5 separate regions of the Homo sapiens genome follow, and regions 1, 2, 3 and 4 are each linked to region 5. The links are contacts of gene promoters, found by promoter capture Hi-C in blood cells and fetal thymus (Javierre and others, 2016). All regions are on one chromosome and are shown on one strand. The core of a region is centred on a gene start or on the middle of the fragment in contact, and the rest is flanking DNA. Distances in the headings are between cores, read along the strand shown. Region 1 overlaps SMARCD2 (SWI/SNF related BAF chromatin remodeling complex subunit D2). Region 2 overlaps CCDC47 (coiled-coil domain containing 47). Region 3 overlaps DDX42 (DEAD-box helicase 42). Region 4 overlaps CCDC47 (coiled-coil domain containing 47). Region 5 holds the start of POLG2 (DNA polymerase gamma 2, accessory subunit).

Evidence for each region. Contacts are between HindIII fragments. The CHiCAGO score rates a contact against its expected background, and 5 or more counts as called.
Region 1: a fragment that was not itself captured here is called in contact with the fragment with the promoter of POLG2 in region 5 in 2 of 17 cell types (non-activated CD4 T cells and total CD8 T cells); the score reaches 6.8 in non-activated CD4 T cells.
Region 2: a contact is called between a fragment that was not itself captured here and the fragment with the promoter of POLG2 in region 5, in 1 of 17 cell types (monocytes). The highest score is 6.8, in monocytes.
Region 3: a contact is called between a fragment that was not itself captured here and the fragment with the promoter of POLG2 in region 5, in 2 of 17 cell types (naive CD4 T cells and monocytes). The highest score is 6.4, in naive CD4 T cells.
Region 4: a fragment that was not itself captured here is called in contact with the fragment with the promoter of POLG2 in region 5 in 1 of 17 cell types (total B cells); the score reaches 5.7 in total B cells.

The regions. Positions count from the first base shown.
Region 1 is chr17:63,833,241-63,836,644 of GRCh38, reverse strand. SMARCD2 (SWI/SNF related BAF chromatin remodeling complex subunit D2) reads left to right here. Exons shown (of 13, transcript NM_001098426.2): 5 at 1,078-1,233; 6 at 1,845-1,940; 7 at 2,070-2,171; 8 at 2,317-2,478; 9 at 2,639-2,736; 10 at 2,923-3,058; 11 at 3,225-3,347. Among named protein-coding and RNA genes, the nearest start is that of FTSJ3, 7.3 kb to the right of the region's middle. RefSeq lists an enhancer at 1,443-1,602. The HindIII fragment of the contact is 2,098 bases long and covers 1,092-3,189 here.
Region 2 is chr17:63,744,654-63,747,885 of GRCh38, reverse strand. It overlaps CCDC47 (coiled-coil domain containing 47), which reads left to right. Exons shown (of 13, transcript NM_020198.3): 13 at 925-2,631. The coding sequence ends at 1,005. Among named protein-coding and RNA genes, the nearest start is that of STRADA, 4.5 kb to the right of the region's middle. The HindIII fragment of the contact is 1,668 bases long and covers 866-2,533 here.
Region 3 is chr17:63,805,307-63,809,001 of GRCh38, reverse strand. It overlaps DDX42 (DEAD-box helicase 42), which reads right to left. Exons shown (of 18, transcript NM_203499.3): 8 at 2,348-2,467; 9 at 1,102-1,278; 10 at 54-182. Among named protein-coding and RNA genes, the nearest start is that of PSMC5, 20 kb to the left of the region's middle. The HindIII fragment of the contact is 8,082 bases long and covers 1-3,695 here.
Region 4 is chr17:63,762,680-63,766,366 of GRCh38, reverse strand. It overlaps CCDC47 (coiled-coil domain containing 47), which reads left to right. Exons shown (of 13, transcript NM_020198.3): 2 at 173-455; 3 at 1,520-1,627; 4 at 2,177-2,351. The coding sequence starts at 192. Among named protein-coding and RNA genes, the nearest start is that of CCDC47, 9.1 kb to the left of the region's middle. The HindIII fragment of the contact is 4,117 bases long and covers 175-3,687 here.
Region 5 is chr17:64,494,832-64,498,383 of GRCh38, reverse strand. POLG2 (DNA polymerase gamma 2, accessory subunit) reads left to right here and starts at 1,330. Exons shown (of 8, transcript NM_007215.4): 1 at 1,330-1,977. The coding sequence starts at 1,416. It overlaps DDX5 (DEAD-box helicase 5), which reads left to right. Exons shown (of 13, transcript NM_004396.5): 13 at 1-130. It also overlaps a transcript of MILR1 not described here. RefSeq lists enhancers at 1,053-1,192, 1,573-1,642, 1,294-2,153. The HindIII fragment of the contact is 2,967 bases long and covers 857-3,552 here.

The DNA.
Region 1 (3,404 bases), core at 891-3,390, 660 kb after region 5:
CCTTGGGTCATAATTGAAAATGTAAATCTTATGGGTGGTGGTCAAAAGTTTGAAAACCACTAGACTAGGGGATAAAGGTAGTTCCTTTCTCCTTCCCCTTCCCCATCCATAGAGAAATTTTCTTTTTTTTTTTTTTTTTTTTTTCTGAGATGGAGTCTCGCTCTTTCACCTAAGCTGGAGTGCAGTGTTGCGATCTCGGCTCACTGCAACCTTCGCATCCCAGGTTCAAGTAATTCTTCTTGCCTCAGCCTCCCGAGTAACTAGGATTACAGATGCCTGTCACCACGCCCGGCTAATTTTTGTATTTTTAGTATCGCCATGTTACCCAGGCTGGTCTCGAACTCCTGACTGCCTCGGCCTCCCAAAGTGCTGAGATTACAGGCGTGAGCCACTGCACCCAGCCGAGAAGCTTTTCTTAATAATAATGTAGAACAGTCCCGAGTGGTGAAGCCTTTCCAGGGGACTAGGATATTTTGGAGCCGTGATGGGTGTTTGGGTTTCATGTAAGATGTGAGCCAGAGACTGGCTGCGTGTTACTCCATCATGCCGTAGCACCAGTCCCACTGTGCTGGCATTGTTGGTGATGCATCTCTTTCCCCATAAAATGGTGAGTTCCGGCCAGGTGCGGTGGCTCACACCTGTAATCTCAGCACTTTAGGAGGCCGAAGTGGGCAGATCACCTGAGGTCAGGAGTTTGAGACCAGCATGGCCAACATGTTGAAATACCATCTTTACAAAAACACAAAAAATTAGCTGGGCATGGTGGTGCGCACCTGTAGTCCCAGCTACATGGGAGACTGAGGCAAGAGAATCGCTTGAACCTGGGAGTCAGAGGTTGCAAGTGAGCTGAGATCGCGCCACTGCACTCCAGCCTGGGTGACAGAGTGAGACCATGTCTAAAAAAAAAAAAGGCTGGGACTGGGACTTACTACTTCTGATTCCCAGTACCTGACAAGGTGCCTGGCTGGCTCATGGTGCTCAGTACTGATTGTTGAATGGTTCATATGAGAAGATGCGGTAGCACTGTGTCCCAGCATCTTGGTCCACCTCCAGTTGTGATTGCCTTTCTCTCTTTAGCAAAAGCGAAAGCTTCGGATCTACATTTCCAATACGTTCAGTCCCAGCAAGGCGGAAGGCGATAGTGCAGGAACTGCAGGGACCCCTGGGGGAACCCCAGCAGGGGACAAGGTGGCTTCCTGGGAACTCCGAGTGGAAGGAAAACTGCTGGATGATGTGAGTTGGGGAGGGAGGTTCTGGAGGGAAGGAGGCCTGTGTGGGTTTAAGACTGAGACCAAGGAGTTTGATACTAGCCTGAGCAGCAGAGCCAGACCCCATCTCTACAAAAAATTTAAAAATTAGCTGGGTGCGGTGGCATGCACCTGTAGTCCCAGCTACTCATAAGGCTGATGCAGGAGGATGGCTTGAGCCCAGGAGGTCGAGCTTCAGTGAGTTATGATCACACCACTGCACTTCAGCCTGGGTGACAGAGTGAGATTGTGTCTCAGAAAAAAAAAGACTGGGCCAGACACTTGGGCGCTCCCAGAGAAGTCCTGCCATAGGGAGGGGGGCGCTGCTCCAAGCCCGTTGGAGGTTGATTTGTGTGGTTATTACAGTGTTCCTGCAGATGGCAGTCGAGTGTCTCGAGGAAGTCCCTCGTGGGCTGCAAGAGGGCACCATTTCCCTGCCTCCAGTCTGCCCAGAGTCCTGCTTCCATCCTTCAGGGCCCAGGAATCTTCAGTATCCGGAGCTCCAGGGCTGAAATGGGGCTTCTCTTTCTTGGGATTTAGCATAGCTTGAGATTTGAGAGCTCAGCAGCACCATCTCACACCCCTTTCCATCCCCAGCCTAGCAAACAGAAGAGGAAGTTTTCTTCATTCTTTAAGAGCCTCGTCATTGAGCTGGACAAGGAGCTGTACGGGCCTGACAATCACCTGGTGGAGGTGAGAGTGGGCCTGGGGCAAAAGCAGGCTGATGTGCAGGTTTGGCAGGGAAATGGCCTCAGGGCCCTTGGGAGGCCCTGTGTTCACGCCCACCCCCTTGGTGATAAGCCATGCTTCCCTCCCTGCCAGTGGCACCGGATGCCCACCACCCAGGAGACAGATGGCTTCCAAGTAAAACGGCCTGGAGACCTCAACGTCAAGTGCACCCTCCTGCTCATGCTGGATCATCAGGTGACAGAGACCCTGGGGTCATTTCTGGGCCCACAGGGACCCCTCAGGAGGGGAGCTGGTTCCTAGAAACCCTTCCTGTCCCTGCCCTATTTTCCCACTGTTCTACTATAAGAACCCGTTCTGACTCCCCTCCATCCAACTCCAGCCTCCCCAGTACAAATTGGACCCCCGATTGGCAAGGCTGCTGGGAGTGCACACGCAGACGAGGGCCGCCATCATGCAGGCCCTGTGGCTTTACATCAAGCACAACCAGCTGCAGGATGGGCACGAGCGGGAGTACATCAACTGCAACCGTTACTTCCGCCAGGTTAGCCAGATGCCAGCCCCCGTTTTCTCAGCCCTTGCTTTGCCTTGCCTGCTGGGCTACTCCTTGGCCACAGCCTGCAGACTGCTGCCCTCACTGGTCCTGGAATGGTCCACTCCACTGTGCCCACAAGCCAACGCTGAGCCTTTCGTATTTCCTCCAGATCTTCAGTTGTGGCCGACTCCGTTTCTCCGAGATTCCCATGAAGCTGGCAGGGTTGCTGCAGCATCCAGACCCCATTGTCATCAACCATGTCATTAGGTAAATGCAAGGAGGGGGACAGGAAGGCTCTTCTAAGAGCAGATTCACCCTTGGCTTGAACTAAAGCCAAAGAAAGCATCAGGTTTCTTTTTCCCTGAGTGTGTGCAGAGAATGGGCCCCAGATTTGGCCCAGGTGGGCAGGATGAAGTCAGCTATGTGCCTTCCCTCCCCATGTGCTGCCTGCAGTGTCGACCCTAACGACCAGAAGAAGACAGCCTGTTACGACATCGATGTGGAGGTGGACGACCCACTGAAGGCCCAAATGAGCAATTTTCTGGCCTCTACCACCAATCAGCAGGAGATCGCCTCCCTTGATGTCAAGGTGGGCCCTCTGGCTCCACAGCTTCCTCTGGGGCCCAGGATTGGGGTGGGCTGGCTCTGTCCAGCATTTCCATACATGTAGCACCTGGAGGACGGGATGGGAACTCTGGCTCAGTTGCTTGCATGTAAGCTTTGGGGGCACAGTCTGACACAGGTACCCTCTCCAGATCCATGAGACCATTGAGTCCATCAACCAGCTGAAGACCCAGAGAGATTTCATGCTCAGTTTTAGCACCGACCCCCAGGACTTCATCCAGGAATGGCTCCGTTCCCAGCGCCGAGACCTCAAGGTGTAGTCCTCTTTCCCGAGGGGACTCCTATGTAAAGCTCTGGGTGATTTTTACCCA
Region 2 (3,232 bases), core at 450-2,949, 750 kb after region 5:
AAGACCCTATCTCAAAAAAAAATAAAGAAAAAACCTAAGACAGTCAATAGTTCCCAAACCAGGAATTTACAAATCACCCTTTGAAACCTAATTTGTTGCACTATGAAGAACTATATATGCTTTGCACTTCTTCTTTTCTTCCCTATTTTCTCCATCCTGTACCAGTTGAGTATATTTCTGAGCACATTTTTACCCCAGTACCCTAAAAATAAGAAGTTTGAGATTGTAGCTGAAATAAACTTTTAATCAGGTGTGACCACTAGTGGCCAACAGTGAAGTCATACTTTGACTTGACCTCTAAGGCTTCTATCAGTCCACGTAATAATAACCTGAACCTTCTTACTCTTCTATGTAACTTCCTAATTCCTAAATAAAAATATGATAAATTTGATAATTTTTATCACATTTGATAAATATGATGTCTCAAATAGAGCATTATGAATTTAAGTATTATGTGCAGGTATGGTGTCTGTGCTAATAAGAAATTTGCAATGAATAACCTGATGGAACAAGATTCTTAAAATTTATTGAACTGAAGTAGAATGTATCTTCTGGCAGTTATACATTTATGATATAATGCCATCATGAATGGTATGGTGAACATCAGGCTAAGTGTTCCCTGGGTACAGAAAAAAATCAAACCAGAATAACAAAGGCTGGTTAATTATAGTAGTTTCTTTCAAAACTGAGATTTTAGTTTACCTTTGCTTCATTTGAAGTTGATTTAATTTTTATTCACTAATGTAGATATTGGCAATTATTTTTATAACTATCTTCTAGAATGTTATGGTGCAAGCCTAAGTTTTTGAATAATACTATAGGCAGTATTCTAATTTGGATTTTTTTTTAACATATGTTTCAAGCTTAATTTGAATTCTCTCGTCCCCACTCCCTTTCTCTATTTATTACCCCTTCTTTCTCTAGGAGGCTGCATTGAGGCGTGAGCAAAAGAAGTTGGAAAAGAAGCAAATGAAAATGAAACAAATCAAAGTGAAAGCCATGTAAAGCCATCCCAGAGATTTGAGTTCTGATGCCACCTGTAAGCTCTGAATTCACAGGAAACATGAAAAACGCCAGTCCATTTCTCAACCTTAAATTTCAGACAGTCTTGGGCAACTGAGAAATCCTTATTTCATCATCTACTCTGTTTGGGGTTTGGGGTTTTACAGAGATTGAAGATACCTGGAAAGGGCTCTGTTTCAAGAATTTTTTTTTCCAGATAATCAAATTATTTTGATTATTTTATAAAAGGAATGATCTATGAAATCTGTGTAGGTTTTAAATATTTTAAAAATTATAATACAAATCATCAGTGCTTTTAGTACTTCAGTGTTTAAAGAAATACCGTGAAATTTATAGGTAGATAACCAGATTGTTGCTTTTTGTTTAAACCAAGCAGTTGAAATGGCTATAAAGACTGACTCTAAACCAAGATTCTGCAAATAATGATTGGAATTGCACAATAAACATTGCTTGATGTTTTCTTGTATGTCTACATTAAACTTGAGAAAAAGTAAAAATTAGAACACTGTATGTAGTAATGAAATTTCAGGGACCCAGAACATAATGTAGTATATGTTTTTAGGTGGGAGATGCTGATAACAAAATTAATAGGAAGTCTGTAGGCATTAGGATACTGACATGTACATGGAAAATTCTAGGGACAGGAGCATCATTTTTTCCTTACCTGATACCACGAACCAGTGACAACGTGAATGCTGTATTTTAAGTGGTTGTATGTTTATTTTCTTGAGTAACAAATGCATGAAAAATTAATGCTTCACCTAGGTAAGATCATTGGTCTGTGTGAAATCACAAATGTTTTTTCCTTCTTGGTTGCTGCAGCCTGGTGGATGTTCATGGAGAAGCTCTGTTCTCTATATTATGGCTGTGTGCCGTTGCTTCTCCCTCTGCTTTTATCTTTTCCACAGTTGAGGCTGGGTATGTTCTTTCAAAGAAATGGCCATGAATATGTGTAAGTATACTTTTGAAAATGAGCTTTCCTAAACTATTGAGAGTTCTTTCCACCTCTTGCGGAACCAACTCTTGGAGGAGAGGCCCATGTATCTGCACGAGCACTTAGCTTGTTCAGATCTCTGCATTTTATAAATGCTTCTTACCAAGAAAGCATTTTTAGGTCATTGCTTGTACCAGGTAATTTTTGCCGGGGATGGGTAAGGGTTGGGTTTTCTGGTGGGAGTGGGGTGGTGGGTATTTTTTGTTGATGCTTTAGTGCAGGCCTGTTCTGAGGCAATAACAAGTTGCTGTGAAAACAGCATGTGCTGCTGCCTTTGTAACTGCATGGAAACTTTTCACATGGGTTTTTCTCCAAGTTAATACAGAAATATGTAAACTGAGAGATGCAAATGTAATATTTTTAACAGTTCATGAAGTTGTTATTAAAATAACTAACATAAAACTTAATTACTTTAATATTATATAATTATAGTAGTGGCCTTGTTTTACAAACCTTTAAATTACATTTTAGAAATCAAAGTTGATAGTCTTAGTTATCTTTTGAGTAAGAAAAGCTTTCCTAAAGTCCCATACATTTGGACCATGGCAGCTAATTTTGTAACTTAAGCATTCATATGAACTACCTATGGACATCTATTAAAGTGATTGACAAAATCTCAGAGTGCCGCCTTGACTTTGTGGAGTTATCCTACAAGAGTATAAGCTCAGAGGAAAATTCTTTCTGTTCGATAAAAGTCAGCACTGAAATGCTTTTCCTTCAAAAGAGTTCATCTGAATATTCCTTTTGTTATTACCATTCAATCATTTTAAAAACATTTTATATTTTTAGAGCCCCATATGTTATTTATGGGCTCCTCCCTGCATTCCACCTCTTAAGACTCCATTAACTCTCCTGTGAATGCGAGGACAAAGAGAGGAGGATGTTGTTTAGTGTCACAAACTGGAAAACCACTAAGTCTCCAATCTCATTTGCATTGCCTGGATGTTTAGCAATGCCAAAATAAGCACTGGACTGTAAGACAAAGACCTGGCTTTTAGTGCCAGCAGAACTAATTACTAATCCTTTGACTTTCGGCAAGTTATTAACCTAATGTGAAGTGAGGATAGTAATTATTTGCCCTGCCTGCTTCACAGGTAGTTGAACACTAAGAGAAAATATATATGTGAGATTGTTTTGTAAACTGTTTAAGCACTTTGCAAGTATAAGGCATCATCTAGGACTGGTCTCCAAGTGATGCATTCTTGCTTTACTCTC
Region 3 (3,695 bases), core at 782-3,281, 690 kb after region 5:
GTTTTCCATACCGAGGGAGGCTGAGAAGCCATTTAAACACAAGGCATACTTACTGGGGTACACACAACAATCTCTGCCCCCTCCTGAAGGGCCTTGGCCTGCTCCCACATACTCCCTCCTCCATATACGGCCACTGATCGAAGATTATATGCTTTTCCAAACCGCTTACATTCTGCATGGATCTACAAAGTTGTGAATAATATATTAACAAACTGTGACACTAACAAATACCTGTCACAACCCAAACGAAGTTCTGAAAAACAGAATGTGATGTCATAAAAAATCGAAACCTAGAACATACTTTAAAACCACGATTTTATTCATAAAGGTATAAATGAATGGAATACCATTATTGCATCTCAACAGATTATCTAAAATCTTTTATTCATTTTACCCCCTTCTCTTCCTGATCCTGTCACTGCTTTTCTACCAAGATAAAATGAACTCATCCTACAGAAAAACTGTCAGCTTATAATACAAACAATCCCCATATCACAATAGGCTTTTCCTCTTAAAAAAAGTAGTTCTGGCCGGGCACAGTGGCTCACACCTGTAATCCCAGCACTGTGGGAGGCCAAGGCAAGCAGATCACTTGAGGTCAGGAGTTTGAGACCAGCCTGGCCAACATGGTGAAACCCCGTCTCTACTAAAAATAAAAAAATTAGCCAGGTGTGGTGGCGTGTGCCCGTGATCCCAGCCTCTCGGCTGAGGCAGGAGAATTGCTTGAAACTGGGAGGTGGAGGTTGCAGTGAGCTGAGATCACACCACTGCACTCCAGCCTGGGCAAAAGAGTGAGACTCTGTCTCAAAAAAAGCAAATAAATAAAAATAAATAAAAACAGTAGTTTTTAGGGGAAAATATGTATTTGGTTATATAGAAAATATTTAACACATAATACTTTCCAAAAGTTTCCTGGTAGCACAACACTGTGAATATACTTAATGCCACTGAACTGTACATTAAAAATGGTTAAGATAATCAATTTTGTGTGTATCTTATCACAATTAAAAAAAAAAGTTTCCTGGTCATTCTACCTCACTTGACTGGCTGGTCCCTTGCTAGTCCACATATGGAAGGAGGCATTCTATAGAAAGCACATACCTGCTGGCAAAGCTCCCTGGTAGGACACACAATCACTGCAATTGGTCCATCACCTGGTTCCAACTCCTTCTGGTCCATTATATGAATCAACATGGGCCAAATGAAGGCTGCAGTTTTCCCACTACCTGTTTTGGCAATACCAATCATGTCTCTACCACTTAATGCCACAGGCACACCCTGGAGAAAAAGTAAAATATAACCACTCTAAAATTTCAATTCTAAAGATGTACTGAAGCAAATCCTGGGGAATGATAAATGACTACTAACATTTTTATTTGCAATGGAACAAAACATACCTGGTGCTATGCATACTGGTTGTGAAATAGAAATATCAATATCCAACATTCTCATTAACTTCTTGATTTATAGGAAATGACATCATTCTCATTACGTGGATATCAGCCACCACTTACAGAACAGAAACAACTCCATTTTGTTTAAAATACAGAAATGAAAAATCAAGGCCGGGCAGTGGCTCACGCCTGTAATCCCAGCACTTTGGGAGGCCGAGGTGGGCAGGTTCCCTGAGCTCAGGAGCTCGAGACCAGCCTGGGCAACACGGTGAAACCCTATCTCAACTAAAATACAAAAAATTAGCCAGGTGTGCTGGCGTGCGCCTGTAATCCCACCTACTTGGGAGGCCGAGGCAGGAGAATTGCTTGAACCTGGGAGGCAGAGATTGCAGTGAGCCAAGATCGCGCCACTGCACTCCAGCTTGGACAACAGAGTGAGACTCTGTCCCCAAAAAAAACAAAAACAAAAACAAAACAGAAAAATTGCAATTTATAATGAAGGGTTGCTAAAATTTTAAAAATTTTCCCCCCTTAAGAAGGTACAGACTATCTCATTCATATACAGAAAATGAGAATGTTCTGCATAAGAATAAATAAATCCCATATATAAATGGGAAAAAGAAGCTAAAACTTTCAGTAATGAATGAGAATTTTCAAGTGACGAACGAAGGAATTCTAGTCATTGACAGTGCTAAATTTGTCTATATACGAACCTTTTTGGTTAGGTTTAGGCCTAATAAATTATTTTCTTCATATCATATTTTCAACATACGTATCAGATACAAAAGAATATTTGTCAGCCATTTAGTGACTTCTTAAGAGTGATAAATACCTCTATCCTTATCAACAAGGTTCTACACTAAACACTGTTTTACTGCTGTGATTTGTTTTTAAATTAATATAGTCATGAAAGACTACCCTACTTTATTTTTCTTTCATTATGTTTTACTTACCTGGCACTGTATTGGAGTGGGCTGTGTGTATTCAGATTTCCGAATCTGGTGCATAAGTTGTTCGTCAAACCCAAAATGAGCAAAGCTACTTCCTGGTCTAGGAGGTGCAGCACCAGAGACCTAGAGATAGAGACAACTCCCCAGAATGACTTGTACTTCAACATTAACAGCATTTGAAGTTCAACAATACTTACCTGGATCTAGCATTTTAGCTGGAGTATGAAGTAAAAATACAAGTCTGTAAGCCAAAATCATACAATGAAAAGGAAAAACCTCAAATGGTAACAAATATAAACCTCATATTAAAAACTCCATGATAAATATTCCCAAGATAATTGTCATACAATTTTAAATGATTAAAAATTTCTTAACTCAAAATTAATTTTCTCATAACAAATAAAACGGAAAAAAAATTGTTCAATGAATTGGGAAGCCATAACTGTTCTTTTGCCATTTTGCATTAAGTATTAACCAGATGGTAGAAAAAAATTAATGTATCTTACTCTTGAAATGAAAATTCCAAGTGGGCTCCAAATAAGACAAGTCTACACATGCTGGCTACCAAGATATAATCTACTGCCTCCATTTTCAGTTATGCTTGATGAATTAAAGTCTCACTTAGTGATGGTCCAGCCACTGTCAAGCCCTGTTCAAACTGCACCTAGGTGAAGAATGGGGCTTATAATCTCCATTTTGTCCCCCAAAGTGGTAACCTTTCAATGCTTCTCTGGTGATGTTGATATTTCCAATCAGGATTTCAGGGGTTTTACTTAAAATTTTTCTTGGGTCACTGGGGAGATGAGTAACCTCTTGGAAAACAGACAAGTGTACACACACAAATACACACCCCTCCTGGAAAACAGGAGTTTAAACATCGTGTAGCAACTGATAAGGTGCACACAGGCGAGAAAGTTGTCTATATTAGAGTAGATAGCATAGCATATTTTTTCTGTGTGTTTCATTTACCATCTATCAGCACCTTAAACCAATGTAGCCAATGTGCAGCCCAAAACTTTCTGGTAGGCAGTTTAAACCATTCTGAAATTAGTACATGCATATTTTTAAAAGGTATTAGTTTATTCTAATTTTTAAAATAAAGCATACTATATGTAATTTGACAGACAAGTTTATCTTCATTTCAAAATATTCTAAGATATCATCTGTTAACATCTATTCCTTTTGTTTCCTCTTCCTTTAGATGGGGACTCCCACCCTTCATCACTAGCCCATCCAGCACAGAACATATAAAACTGACTGAAATATGAAACAAGAAAATGATCCTATCCTAAAACAGCATCTAGAAGACTAAAACAATCAAATTAAGAGACATGAACAGAAGGGATATAAT
Region 4 (3,687 bases), core at 984-3,483, 730 kb after region 5:
CTAGAACCCAAGCCTCTTGACCTTACTTCATTGTTCTTTATATAATGTGGTCTGAATCTAATAGTACCAAATAAGAGAAAAGCAGGAGAGGTTTATAGATTTTTACTGTTTATAAAATCTGATCAGTATGTATAGAATGGCAATCCATTTTGGGGTTCTCTTTTTTTTTAAGCTTTTTTTCTCAAGGTGCAATGAAAGCCTTCCACACTTTCTGTGTTGTCCTTCTGGTGTTTGGGAGTGTCTCTGAAGCCAAGTTTGATGATTTTGAGGATGAGGAGGACATAGTAGAGTATGATGATAATGACTTCGCTGAATTTGAGGATGTCATGGAAGACTCTGTTACTGAATCTCCTCAACGGGTCATAATCACTGAAGATGATGAAGATGAGACCACTGTGGAGTTGGAAGGGCAGGATGAAAACCAAGAAGGAGATTTTGAAGATGCAGATACCCAGGTGAGGCTCTTTTTATTAATTTATTGGAAAAATTTGTAACTAGCACCTTTCCCAAACATTAAAATTAATCCTCAGGCTCAAGAGACCTTTACTGTCTGGAGTCTTCATTTTCATTCACTAGGTAGAGCTCTTCTAAATGTTCTGTGGTAAGTTTCCACCTTTTACATTAACAGAATGAATTGTGTTCTTCTATTGAAACCCTGACTGGAAGAGGGGTTAGAGAATAGATACTGTTTGTGGGTGAGAATTGTATTATTTAGAACTTTGCAATTGGCTGGGCACGGTGGCTCATGCCTGTAATCCCAGCACTTTGGGAGGCCAAGGCAGGCAGATCACCCAAGGTCAGGAGTTTGAGACCAGCCTGGCCAACATGGTGAAACCCTGTCTCTACTAAAAATACAAAATTAGCTGGGCGTGGTGGTGCGTGCCTGTCATGTCAGCTACTTGGGAGGCTGAGCCAAGAGAATCGCTTGAACCTGGGAGGTGGAGGTTGCAGTGAGCTGAGATTGAGCCACTGCACTTCAGCCTGGGTGATAGAGCAAGACCTTGTCTCCAAAAAAAAAAAGAAAAGAAAAAACTTTGTCATCAAAAGCATGGGGACTCATCATTTTGGTGTTTTGGGTGCTCCCCAGCTTTATTGAGGTGTAACTGACAAAAATTGTATATATTTAAGGTGCACAACATAGTGTTTTGGTATACCTCTACATACAATATGAAGTGCTTACCACAATCAAGCTAATTAACATAGTTGCCTCCGTGTGTGTGTGTGTGTGTGTGTGTGTGTGTGTGTGGTGAGAATACTTACAATATATTCTCTTAGCAGATTTCAAGTCTACAATACATTATTATTAACTGTAGTCACCTTGCTGCACATTAGGTCTTCAGAACTTTCTCATTTTAAGCTGAAATTTGTACCCAATCGTTTTGTTAAAAACATGTAACATCTGTTTTCTGTGCTTGCTGCTTACACGTTCTTGTTTTCCCCAACAAATGTTGCCAACAAAATGAGACACAGCTGCTGGTGACATTTGTAGAGGAAAACGGATGATGCCTCATTTTTGTAGGAGGGAGATACTGAGAGTGAACCATATGATGATGAAGAATTTGAAGGTTATGAAGACAAACCAGATACTTCTTCTAGCAAAAATAAAGACCCAATAACGATTGTTGATGTAGGTATCCAGGATTCTGAATTCCCAACTAAACAACAAAATGTCTTGTCATCAATCCCAGAAATAAAATTAATGATGTATAGCTGGTGTTAATGCAATAGTGGGAGCTGAGAAGGAGCTTGACATCAATTTTTCTGATAAAAATCAACACCTCTCCGTCTCAAAAAAAAAAAAATCAACACCTACAGAAGCAACCCCTATTCATCATTGTAGCACTTCTAGTTTTACTACTTATCAGGGAATAAGTAAAATTTATTCCTTGGTGATGTACAGTACATTGAATTTATTTGGGGGTTAAGGACCAAGTGTAAAACAAAGGGCTTTCCAGCTTTTCATCCCATTTGATTGTCCTTATATTTCCTTAAAGAATCTTTTATCAAGCTAGCCTAGAAAAGTAAAATGGACCTATTTTTCAAAGTATAACCTTATTCAATGACAGATATCTGAAGTATCCCTTCTGTTTATGGATTTTCTCATTCTTCCTGCCATGAGGTAGATTTCATTCTTCAGTCTCAGCCAACATTTAATGGAATGATTTTGCTTTTTTAGGTTCCTGCACACCTCCAGAACAGCTGGGAGAGTTATTATCTAGAAATTTTGATGGTGACTGGTCTGCTTGCTTATATCATGAATTACATCATTGGGAAGAATAAAAACAGTCGCCTTGCACAGGCCTGGTTTAACACTCATAGGGAGCTTTTGGAGAGCAACTTTACTTTAGTGGGTAAGTGAGGCCAATGTCAGCCCAGCTTCTTGCTTGAAAACAATCTGGTAAGGATGATGTATTCCCCTCAGTATAAGCATCTAACTGCTTTCATGGAATACCAAAGAGGGTGCATTGTTTTTTCTCTCAAGGATTCCCCCTGCTCTTTTTTTTTTTAATTTAATTTAATTTTATTATTATTATTACTATTTTTGAGATGGAGTCTCACTCTGTCACCAGGCTGGAGTGCAGTGGCGCGATCTCGGCTCACTGCAACCTCCACCTCCTGGGTTCAAGCGATTCTTCTGCCTCAGCCTCCCAAGTAGCTGGGACTACAGGCGTGCACCACCATGCCCTGCTCATTTTTGTATTTTTAGTAGAGTCGGGGTTTCACCATGTTGGCCAGGATGGTCTCAATCTCTTGACCTCATGGTCCACCCACCTCGGCCTCCCAGATTGCAGGGATTACAGGCATGAGCCACTGCACCCGGCCTTTTTATTTTTATTTTTTTGAGGCAAGGTCTCACGCTGTTACCCAGGCTTGTGTGCAGTGGTATGATTACAGTTCACTGCAGCCTCGACCTCCCAGGTTCAAGAGATCCTTCCATCTTAGCCTTCTGAGTAGACAGGACTACAGGCACATGCTACCACACCCAGCTAATTTTTGTATTTTTTTTGTAGAGACAGAGTTTCATCATATTGTGCAGGCTGGTCTCGAACTCCTGGGCTCAAGCAATCTGGCTGCCTTGGCCTCCCAAATTGCTGGGATTACAGACGTGAGCTACTGCATCCAGCCTTGAGGATCCTGTTTTTTGGCCCGGTGCGGTGGCTCACACGTGTAATTCCAGTGATTTGGGAGGCCAAGGTGGGAGGATTATTTGGGGCCAGGAGTTTAAGACCAGTCTGGGCAACATAGTGAGACCTTGTCTCTACAAATAAAATAAAATAAAAATTGGCCAGTCACAGTGGTGTGCTTCTGTGGTCCCAACTACTTGGGAGGATGAGGTGGGAGAATTGAGCTCAGGAGTTTGAGGCTGCAGTGGTACAGAATCATGCTCCTGCACTCCAGCCTGGGTGACAGAATGAGACCCTGTTTCTAAAAATAAGAATATATTGTATTTAATAATTTTCTCATCTTTCATGAGTCAGCAGTAAAATTGCTAAACAGCTTCTGATTAGTATAATGTAATCGATGTTTTCAAAACAAGTTGATAAAATTCTGACGGAAACCAAGAAAGTTTGACATTTTAGGTAGCTTGATAAATGCTCTCAATTCATCTTTTAGAAATTGAAAGTCCCTCAAAATTCCCTTAGAATCTGACACTTGAGTTTTGGATCCACTGCTGAAATATACATT
Region 5 (3,552 bases), core at 81-2,580:
AATGATTGTTGGGCTGTGGAAAACATTTACCTATTTACCTTGGAAGTTTTAAAAGACAGTCCACTTTTTAGCATGTGTGTTGTGTCCAGCCTGTGGTCGTCTTAACTAATAAATGTGATTTTTCTCCCCATTCTCTCTTTTTATTTATTTGCGTATAGGCCTTTTACCTGGTGTGAGTTCCTGAATGTGGAAAACACCTGGCAGTAGTACCCAGCTTTGCAGTTAATTACTATCTAGCTGGCCTTTTTTTAAACCCTTGTATACACTTGTAAAGAAGAACTATTTCCTGAACCTGGTACAGCACTTTACTAATGATAAAACTTTACTCCTGAATTACATTAACTCAATTGCTAAGCTGTTACCCCTCTTAATCAGGTAGTAGTTTGGTAGTCTCACAGTGAAATGTAGATTGTTCCTTTTTCCCTGAACCTCTTTAAAGGTTTTCGTAACTGAGGCTGGTATAAGAAATCATGGACTTTGGAATCAAACTTCCTCAGTCTGGGTATACCACTTTTCCACTTTCTGGGTAGGTCTTAAGGTCTCGACCTATTTAAATAGAAACTGCAAAATCAGAAACCTGCAATTTAATCATGAGTCTCTTAATAATAACAGTCACAAGTCTCATTGTTTTGATGAACCCATAGAAGGGGCCCCTGGAAGAAATTGCACGTACGTGGTTTTCTCTGACACCAGGAGGGTTTAAGACATGTCAGGGCCCCTTGGTTTATTTCTAGTGCATTCCCAGGTGAGGCAGATGCTGCTGGCTGGGGACTGCCCTTTGGAAGCCACTGCAATATTTAAAGTGACCATACCACTACCCTAGTCACGAAGCCTATCGCCCCCCTCCCCGGAAGCTTAAGCGTCAAGACAACGGCTCTGGGGTTAGGCCTAGGCCACCTGGCGGCAGCATTTGCCTAGTTAAGAAGGCCTGGGCTTACAAATCACCGTAAAGGACTAAAACTGTTTAAAGGGAAACCAAATGCCAAATTTAGTCCAAGTGCTTGATTGAGGTGTATATAGAAGGTGATTTGGATAATACTGAAGTATTTTAATTTTCTGGACTGCAAAACAGTGGCAGAAGGAAGTGACTCAAGTGGCTACACCACGGTTATAAATAGGTGGGAATAACCTTTACTGGTGCTTACGAGGAAAGAAAAAAGTCAATCTGAAGGGAGGGGCGCGACGCGAACGGCAAGCTAGCAGAGAACCATCCGAGCCGGCGTCCGCCATGGTGGGCGGGGGACGGCTGCGGCCGGAACGCAGACATGCGCTTCCGGGGTGGGGCCTGCCGCCCGCAAGCACGCTCACCTCCGTTGCGCCTGCGCCGTGGCCTCTCCGGATTCTGTTAACGGTAGTGGTGGCTTGTTGGGATCCGTTGAGTGATGGGAGAGTGTGCTCTTTAACTTCGGAGAGAGATGCGCTCTCGTGTAGCCGTCAGGGCCTGCCATAAGGTCTGCAGGTGCCTGTTGTCTGGGTTTGGGGGTCGAGTAGATGCGGGGCAGCCGGAGCTGTTGACGGAAAGGAGTAGCCCCAAAGGAGGGCATGTGAAGTCGCACGCGGAGCTCGAGGGGAACGGCGAGCACCCAGAAGCCCCCGGGTCTGGAGAGGGAAGCGAGGCGCTGTTAGAGATCTGTCAGAGAAGGCATTTCCTAAGTGGAAGCAAGCAGCAGCTTAGCCGGGATTCTCTTCTGAGTGGGTGCCACCCCGGCTTCGGACCCTTGGGCGTAGAGTTGCGGAAGAACCTGGCCGCAGAATGGTGGACCTCGGTGGTGGTGTTCAGGGAGCAGGTATTCCCGGTGGACGCCCTCCACCACAAACCAGGCCCTTTGCTACCCGGGGACAGTGCCTTCAGGTTAGTTTCTGCAGAAACTCTACGCGAAATCTTGCAAGACAAAGAGCTGAGTAAGGAACAGCTAGTAGCATTTCTTGAGAACGTATTAAAAACTTCTGGGAAACTACGGGAGAACCTTCTTCACGGTATGCTTCACGATTTCATGCTTCAAAACAGGTGTCGGGTGGAAAGGCGAGGCAGTCTTGCTGGATCTTGGGGATTGCAACTGGCCCTGTATTCCCATGCAAGGAAGTTAGTTAGTTCTCATCTTTTTGAAGTAGTCGGATATATTAACAGTGCTCTACCCTGGAGAAAACTGGTCCATGGAATCATTGCTGTTCCTTAAACAATCTGTCCGAAGGACCTGGGAACGCTCTCAATTTCACGGGGCAACTTCTGAACACAGTGCTGTCATTTAGTGCAATGTAGTCTAAGTGCATAAGGAACTACACAGACATTTTGAACTTTTCTTAGATTTATTCTAAGTAAAAATGTTGAAATTATAATTCTGAAACTATTTCATGTATATCATAGGATAAATCAAGGCCAGGCGCAGTGGCTCACGCCTGTAATCCCAGCATTTTGCAAGGCAGAGGCGGGTGGATCACCTGAGGTCAGGAGTTCGAGACTAGCCTGGCCAACATGGTGAAACCCCGTCTCTACTAAAAAGACAAAAATTAGCCGGCCGTGACGGCGAGCGCCTGTAATCCCAGCTACTTGGGAGGCTGAGGCAGGAGAATCGCTTGAACCCAGGAGGCAGAGGTTGCAGTGAGCCGAGATCACGCCACTGCACTCCAGCTTGGGTGACAAGAGCAAAACTCCGTCTTAAAAAAAAAAAATTCAAATAGTTGGGTTAGTTGTTATTAGGAACCAAGATATTCATTGTAAAAGAAGAGATAATATGTAAAAGAAGGTACGTATAAACTAATGTTAAATATGGATTGGTAAATTAAATATGAATTGGTAAATTAAAATTGAATATGGGTCTCACTCTGTCACCCAGACTCGAGTGCAGTGGTGTGATCATGGCTCACTGCAGCCTCGACCTCGGGCTCAAGTGAACCTCCCACCTCAGCCTCCCAAGTAGCTGGACTACAGGCACATGCCACCACACCCAGCTAATTTTTGTGTTTTTTGTAGAGATGAGGTTTTGCCATGTTGTCCAGGCTGGTCTTGAACTCCTGAGCTTAAGCAATCCGCCCATCTTGGCCCCCCAAAGTGCTGGGATTACAGGTGTGAGCCACAGTGCCCAGCCTCATGATTTTTAAAAATATATTTCCTAACTTTCTTCGTTTAAAGTTCCTAGAAGCAATGACCCTCAGTAGCAATGAGCACACCTAGTGCCCAGATCCTGGTTCCTTTTTTTTTTTTTTTTGAGACAGAGTCTCGCTCTGCCGCCCAGGCTGGAGTGCAGTGGCACAATCTCGGCTCACTGCAAGCTCCATCTCCCAGGTTCACGCCATTCTCCTGCCTCAGCCTCCCGAGTAGCTGGGACTAGACTACAGGCACTTGCCACCACGCCTGGCTAATTTTTTGTATTTTTAGTAGAGACGGGGTTTCACCTTGTTAGCCAGGATGGTCTCTATCTCCTGACCTTGTGATCCGCCCGCCTCGGCCTCCCAAAGTGCTGGGATTACAGGCGTGAGCCACTGCGCCCGGCCTCCAGATCTTGGTTTCTAAGATGAACCAGTACTGGGAGAAATGGCTGATTCCGGGTCTGG